Regions from separate parts of the Homo sapiens genome. Here region 1 is linked to region 2. The links are contacts of gene promoters, found by promoter capture Hi-C in human tissues and cell types (Jung and others, 2019). All regions are on one chromosome and are shown on one strand. The core of a region is centred on a gene start or on the middle of the fragment in contact, and the rest is flanking DNA. Distances in the headings are between cores, read along the strand shown.

Region 1 (2,700 bases), core at 56-2,555, 1.3 Mb before region 2:
TCCCCAAAGGCCGGCTCTCCACGGTTTTCCCCATGTGCCCAGCCTCAGTGCCTCTCTTCCTGCTTCACTTTTCAACGTAGATCTGGCAACATCCCAAGCCCCGGCCTCTCCCATCCTGTACGACCCCCAGGCCGCTGGTACCTGATCCAGCCTCAAAAGCAGCTCAGAGTCAACGGGTCCCAGTCCCTAGGGGGCTCTGAGCAAGAGACTCCTCGCCCCGCCCCCCACTCCTCTCAGAGGCTTGACTGAGCACCTCCCTTTTTTTTTTTTTTTTTTTTTTTTTTTTTTTTTTTTTTTTTGAGAGAGTCTCACTCTGTCACCCAGGCTGGAGTGCAATGGCGCAATCCCGGCTCACTGCAACCTCCGCCTCCCAGGTTTAAGTGATTCTCCTGCCTCAGCCTCCCGAGTAGCTGGGATTACAGGCGCCCGCCACCACGCCCAGCTCATTGCTTCGTATTTTTAATAGAGACGGGGTTTCACCAGGTTAGCCAGGCTGGTCTCGAACTCCTCACCTCAGGTAGTCCACCCGCCACGACCTCCCAAAGTTCTAGGATTACAGGCGTGAGCCACCGCGCCCTGCCGCACCTCCTAATTTTTAGATGTTGTCAACTAAGTGATCCCGCCACCAAGCGCAGTCTCCTCCTGCGTCACCGACCCACCGGGTCACCTGTCTACACACCGCCATCTCTTCGCACCCCCTCCCCCTCTTCGACCCGGCTTCTGGCCTCACCCACACCCCCATAGACCCGTTCCTCCGGCGCCGCAGCGAGCAACCGAGTGCGAGGCCCGCCCCGCCTACCGGGCCCTAGCACGCCGGGCTCCCGGACGCCAGGCCGGCCTCCCCCCGCGATCGCCCCGGGCTCTCCCCGAAACGGGCGGGCTCCCGTGCCGCTCCAGTCGCCTCACCGCCACAAGCCTGCACCTGCAGCCCGAGGCCCGGCTCCCCGCGGACCCCGCGGTGTGAGCCCCGCGCGCCTCCAGCCCGGTTCCCGGTCCTCCGGGCCACCCTCTCCACCGAGCTGCGCCCCCCTCGCAGGGAGAGCGGGCTCAGCCGGTGGGCCGCGCAATGCCTGCGTCTCCAGCTCACCGCGTGCACTGCGCGCACCCGAGCGCCATGGCCACTCGGCCCGCGCCACTGAAAGGCCCGGGGGCGAAGAACCCGCGGAACCCCGGCCCAGGACCTCGGGCGCCCGACCCGGCCCCCGACCCCGCCCGCGCCACCCTCCATCGGCCCGCCCCCCAGGCGCCATTGGCCGCGCCTGCTCCGCTCTCCGCGCGCTGATTGGTCGGCGCGAGGGTCTGTCAGACCGGGCGCCGCGGCGGCGGCAGCGGCGGAGAAGGGAGCGGGACCGGAAGGGTCGCAGCGCCCCGGCGCCCCTCACACCCACTGCGGCGGCGGCGGCGGCGGCGGCGGCGGGGCGGAGCGGAGCGGGGCGGGCCGGCGGCGGAGCCGGGGCCGCGGAGCCAGGAGTGACTAGCACGCAGCGCCGCCAGTCCGCCCGCCCGCCCTCTCCCCGTGGCGCGGCGGCGGGGAGGCGAGGTGAGCCCGGCGGGCGGGCTAGGCCTGGCGGCGGCTGCTCGGGCCGGGCCCGCGGGGAGGGGCGGTGAGGGAACCGCGCGGCCGGGGGCTTCGGGGCGGGCCGGGGGCTGCGGGGCCCTGGCAGCCGCAGCCGTCGCCCCTGTGCTGGGGGATGCCGCAGGCGCCCCCTTCCGCCCGGCTGTCAGCAGCCCCGGGCTGCGGGCCTGCTCACCGGCCTGGCCCGGCCGACCTGCCCGTGGGGTCTGCGGGCGCCATCCCTCCCGGAGGTGGGGCAGACAGCTGCACTCCTGCGCCGGGTGCCCAGGGGCCCGGGGTCGCGTCCCCGCGACCTTGGCCAAGGCACTGACCCTCGCTCTGCCGCGGTTTTGCCTTCGGGAAGGTGGGGAAATGTCTCTTCTGGACAGGGTTGTTGTCAGGCTGTGTGAATGTATGCAGACGCCTGGGCAGGACCCCGGTGTGCATCTGTGGAAGACTGGGCAGGGTGCTGGCCCGTGCTGGTGTGAGTGGTGTAGGAACCCCCTCCCCACCCGCCCAGCCTCCCGCCTCCCCGCGCACTCCTCTCTTGCCTTGTCATTGCACACTCGGTGTCCAGCAGTGCCAGAGGGGACCCAGCCCGAATCCCTTACCACCGCGCCCCTCCCCCAGAAGACTGCTGCCCCGTCCCACTCATCTCGCCCGCCTTGAACATGCCAGCCCGCATTTGCCCCAGGACCTTTGCATTTGCTGTTTCCCCGTCTTTGGAGTTGTCTCCGTGATCTTGGCACAAGTAGCTCTTTCTGCTCCTTCCTCTGGTCAGATGTCTCGTTTTGGGTGAGGCCCTCCTCGACCACCCTCTTTCTTCCCTTAGTCATGCTATTTCATTATTTAAAAAATTTCCTTCCTAGCTCTCATCTGGTTTGAAACTATTCTATTTATTTGCCTGCTTATTTTCTGTCTCCCCGACTAGGATGTAACTTTGTGAAAACAGGTAGCTGTCTGATTTGTCCACTGCTTTATCCCCAGTGCTTAGAAAGCACACAGGAAGTATTCAGTAGTATCAGCTCAATGAATGAATGAATGATCAAAGAAATGGCCCAGCCTGCCTGTTGTCTCTGCTTTATCTGTTCATTTAGTGACTTCTGATTAGCGTGTGAAACTTGTAAGCAGATGGAAGCTTGTTC
Region 2 (2,700 bases), core at 112-2,611:
TTCTCAGCTACCAAGCCCTCTGGTCCTTCCCTGAGCTTCACTGGGTAGAGAAGCTCAACAACAGATGAAGAAGTTTACCACGTCTAGACCCTGAAGGCAGTTCAAGCAAAAAGAAGCCTTCACTCACCTGTACATGGGCTGGCAGCAACCTCCTTGCCATTTCTCCCTCCCTGCTGCCTCTCTTGGAGAAGGCACCTGGAATGGAGAAAAAAGCTGTGAGGTCTTTTCATCCAGCCTGCATGCCCACCCTCATTAGGCCAGACCAGGTTAGAAGCCATAAGCTGAGCACCTGCAGAGAAGGAGCCTGGAACTGCCCAGGCCAGAGGGGCCCTAAGTCCGGCCACTTAAACCAGTGTGGGAAGCAGGTTCAGAGTCACCGGGCCTGCTACCTTTCTGCCAGTGCTTTACGATAAAGACGAAAGGAGCGAAGGGATGAAGACCATCTGCCGTGCCTTAACAGGGTCAAGGGCAGAATCAGGCAAGGCTCATTCAGATAAAGTAATAGGAAATGACACAATATTCCACACATCTGCACTTGGATGTTGTTCAATACGAAAAACAGCAGTTGAAGAACTGATGCTCTTTTTTAGGAACAGCCAACCAAAAATTAGTCCTCTTTTCTTCCTCTTGTAAGATTTACTTCCTTTATCAAAAACAGTTATCAAAGCTGCTTAAAGGTAGCGTTACCCATTCTCCCTGGCCCCAAAAAAACAAGGGCGCAAGAAAACAGCATCACTAGCTAGAAATTGATTTAAAATTTAGAGAAATGGGAAGAAACGTAGCAAGTGGACATGGTTACGGTAAATAAAAAAAGAAATAGTTAAATCACTCTAGGACTGGCTGTAGGAAAACACTGCCAAACGTGCAAGACTGCCAAAAACGAGTAAATCTAAAGTTTAAACTCCGGGAAACGGAGTAGGGGGAGGCTTAAACCCACAAACACTAAGAGCGAAAAACCGCCCGGAGGGCTCCGGACCCTGAACCGAGGCGGCATTTTGCAGTTTCTGTTCTGGAGCCGTTTCCCCCGGAGTCCGGCCCAGGCTGCGGCCCAGGAGTCCAGCGGCGTCGAAGCGCCCTCCCGGCCTCCGCCAGGCCCTTCCCAGGCCACGCCCCCTCCGGGGCCGGGTTCACCTGCCGAGGCCGCCCCGGCTCGGACGCCCGGAGCCGGGGACTCGGCAGACACGCGCAGAGGCCAGCCCTCGTCCTGGTCCCGCCGCGGCAGCCGCACGCCCCGGGCCCGCCCTCACCGGCAGCCTGTACCTGGGCCCGCCTCGGCGGGGGGCGCGCAGCTCCACACCGCACAAGAGGCGAGCGGAACACCTAATTCAGAGACGTTTCCCGTCGCTGCCGGGCGCAACTGCGCCTGCGCGCCGGAGAGCCGACGGGTTTCCCTGGCTGAACCGCAGCGTTTGTCCCTCCGGACTTCATTTCCCAGACGTCGCTGCGGCACCACCACTTACGGTGTCCGAGAGAGAACCACAGCGCCGAGAGCGGAGAACGCGGTCGGGCTGTGGAGTTCGAGAAGGCTGAAGCCGAGTCCCTCAGCTTGGGCTCCAACTACTCTCCCTCCGCTAAACCACCCATTGTATTCGTAATTAGAATGACAAAAATAGTAAGACGGAAAAGTGAGTATGAATTTTTAAATCTGGAAGACTAGCCGCTGCTGATTATTCGCAGGTGGTGACAGAACTATTACAGTCCATTCTGCGATTTTAATTAAAAATGAATTATGTCTAAATTTTATAATCTCGGCCGGGCGCGGTGGCTTATGCCTGTAATCGCAGCACTTTGGGAGGCCGAGGTGGGCGGATCACAAGGTCAGGAGACCGAGACCATCTTGGCCAACATGGTGCAACCCTGTCTCTACGAAAACACGAAAAATTAGTCGGGCGTGGTGGCACATGCCTGTAATCCCAGCTATTCGGGAGGCTGAGGCAGGAGAATCGCTTGAACCTGGGAGGCGAAGGTTGCGGTGAGCTCAGATCGCGCCATTGCACTCCAGCCTGGGTGACAGAGCAAGACTCTGTCTCAAATAAATAAATAAATAAATAAATAAATTTTTGTAATCTTTACATATTTACTGGCACTCAGAGTAAAACAAAAGCATAAGCCTAGTATTTCCCTCTTCATGGCACTCACTTCTTTTGAAGTGACTTCTTTAAAACGTAAAATAAAGCCCAACTCCCAGCGCTATCATCACAACTGCATCCTCGGTGACCGGCACTGTACACGCCAAATACTATGTGCTCAGAAAGTGTTGATTTTTAAAATATCAAACATTAGCGTTTACAGAGACAAACCTAAACACAAAGGGTACTTGAAGATAGAAAATGCAGAGAGGGACTAAGAGATATCAGGTAGATAATATGAAAAAGAAATCTTGGATCACGATGTTACAACAATACAAAGATTATTGCAATGTAAAAATAATTAAATCGAACAAAATGGATGTTTTATATTGTTAAAAGATAATAATGCACATCACTAATCATTAGGGGAATGCAGATCAAAGCAGATCAAACATCCACTGCGATTTCACACTCATTAGGTTGGCTATTATAAAATTTGGAAAAAAAAGAAAACCAGAAAACAATCCTTGTGCCTTAATGGTGGGAATGTAAAATGGTAGCGCTGCGCTGGAAAACGGTATGGCAGTTCCTCAAAAAAAAATTAAATGTAGAATTAACACATGGGCAATTC

What was found. The method cuts DNA at HindIII sites, captures the fragments that hold promoters and counts their contacts. A contact is called where the count stands out against the background at its distance.
Region 1: a contact is called between the fragment with the promoter of MAPK9 here and the fragment with the promoter of ZNF879 in region 2, in 1 of the 25 tissues and cell types used here (aorta).

Annotation. Positions count from the first base shown.
Region 1 is chr5:180,290,688-180,293,387 of GRCh38, reverse strand. MAPK9 (mitogen-activated protein kinase 9) reads left to right here and starts at 1,305. Exons shown (of 12, transcript NM_002752.5): 1 at 1,305-1,540. LOC124901151 (a long non-coding RNA gene) reads right to left here and starts at 1,156. Exons shown (of 2, transcript XR_007059085.1): 1 at 1,088-1,156. RefSeq lists an enhancer at 185-827 and silencers at 750-1,089, 1,100-1,469, 1,600-1,789. The HindIII fragment of the contact is 17,371 bases long and covers 1-2,700 here.
Region 2 is chr5:179,022,465-179,025,164 of GRCh38, reverse strand. ZNF879 (zinc finger protein 879) reads right to left here and starts at 1,361. Exons shown (of 5, transcript NM_001136116.3): 1 at 1,261-1,361; 2 at 128-195. The coding sequence starts at 160. RefSeq lists an enhancer at 1,232-1,733. The HindIII fragment of the contact is 17,237 bases long and covers 1-2,700 here.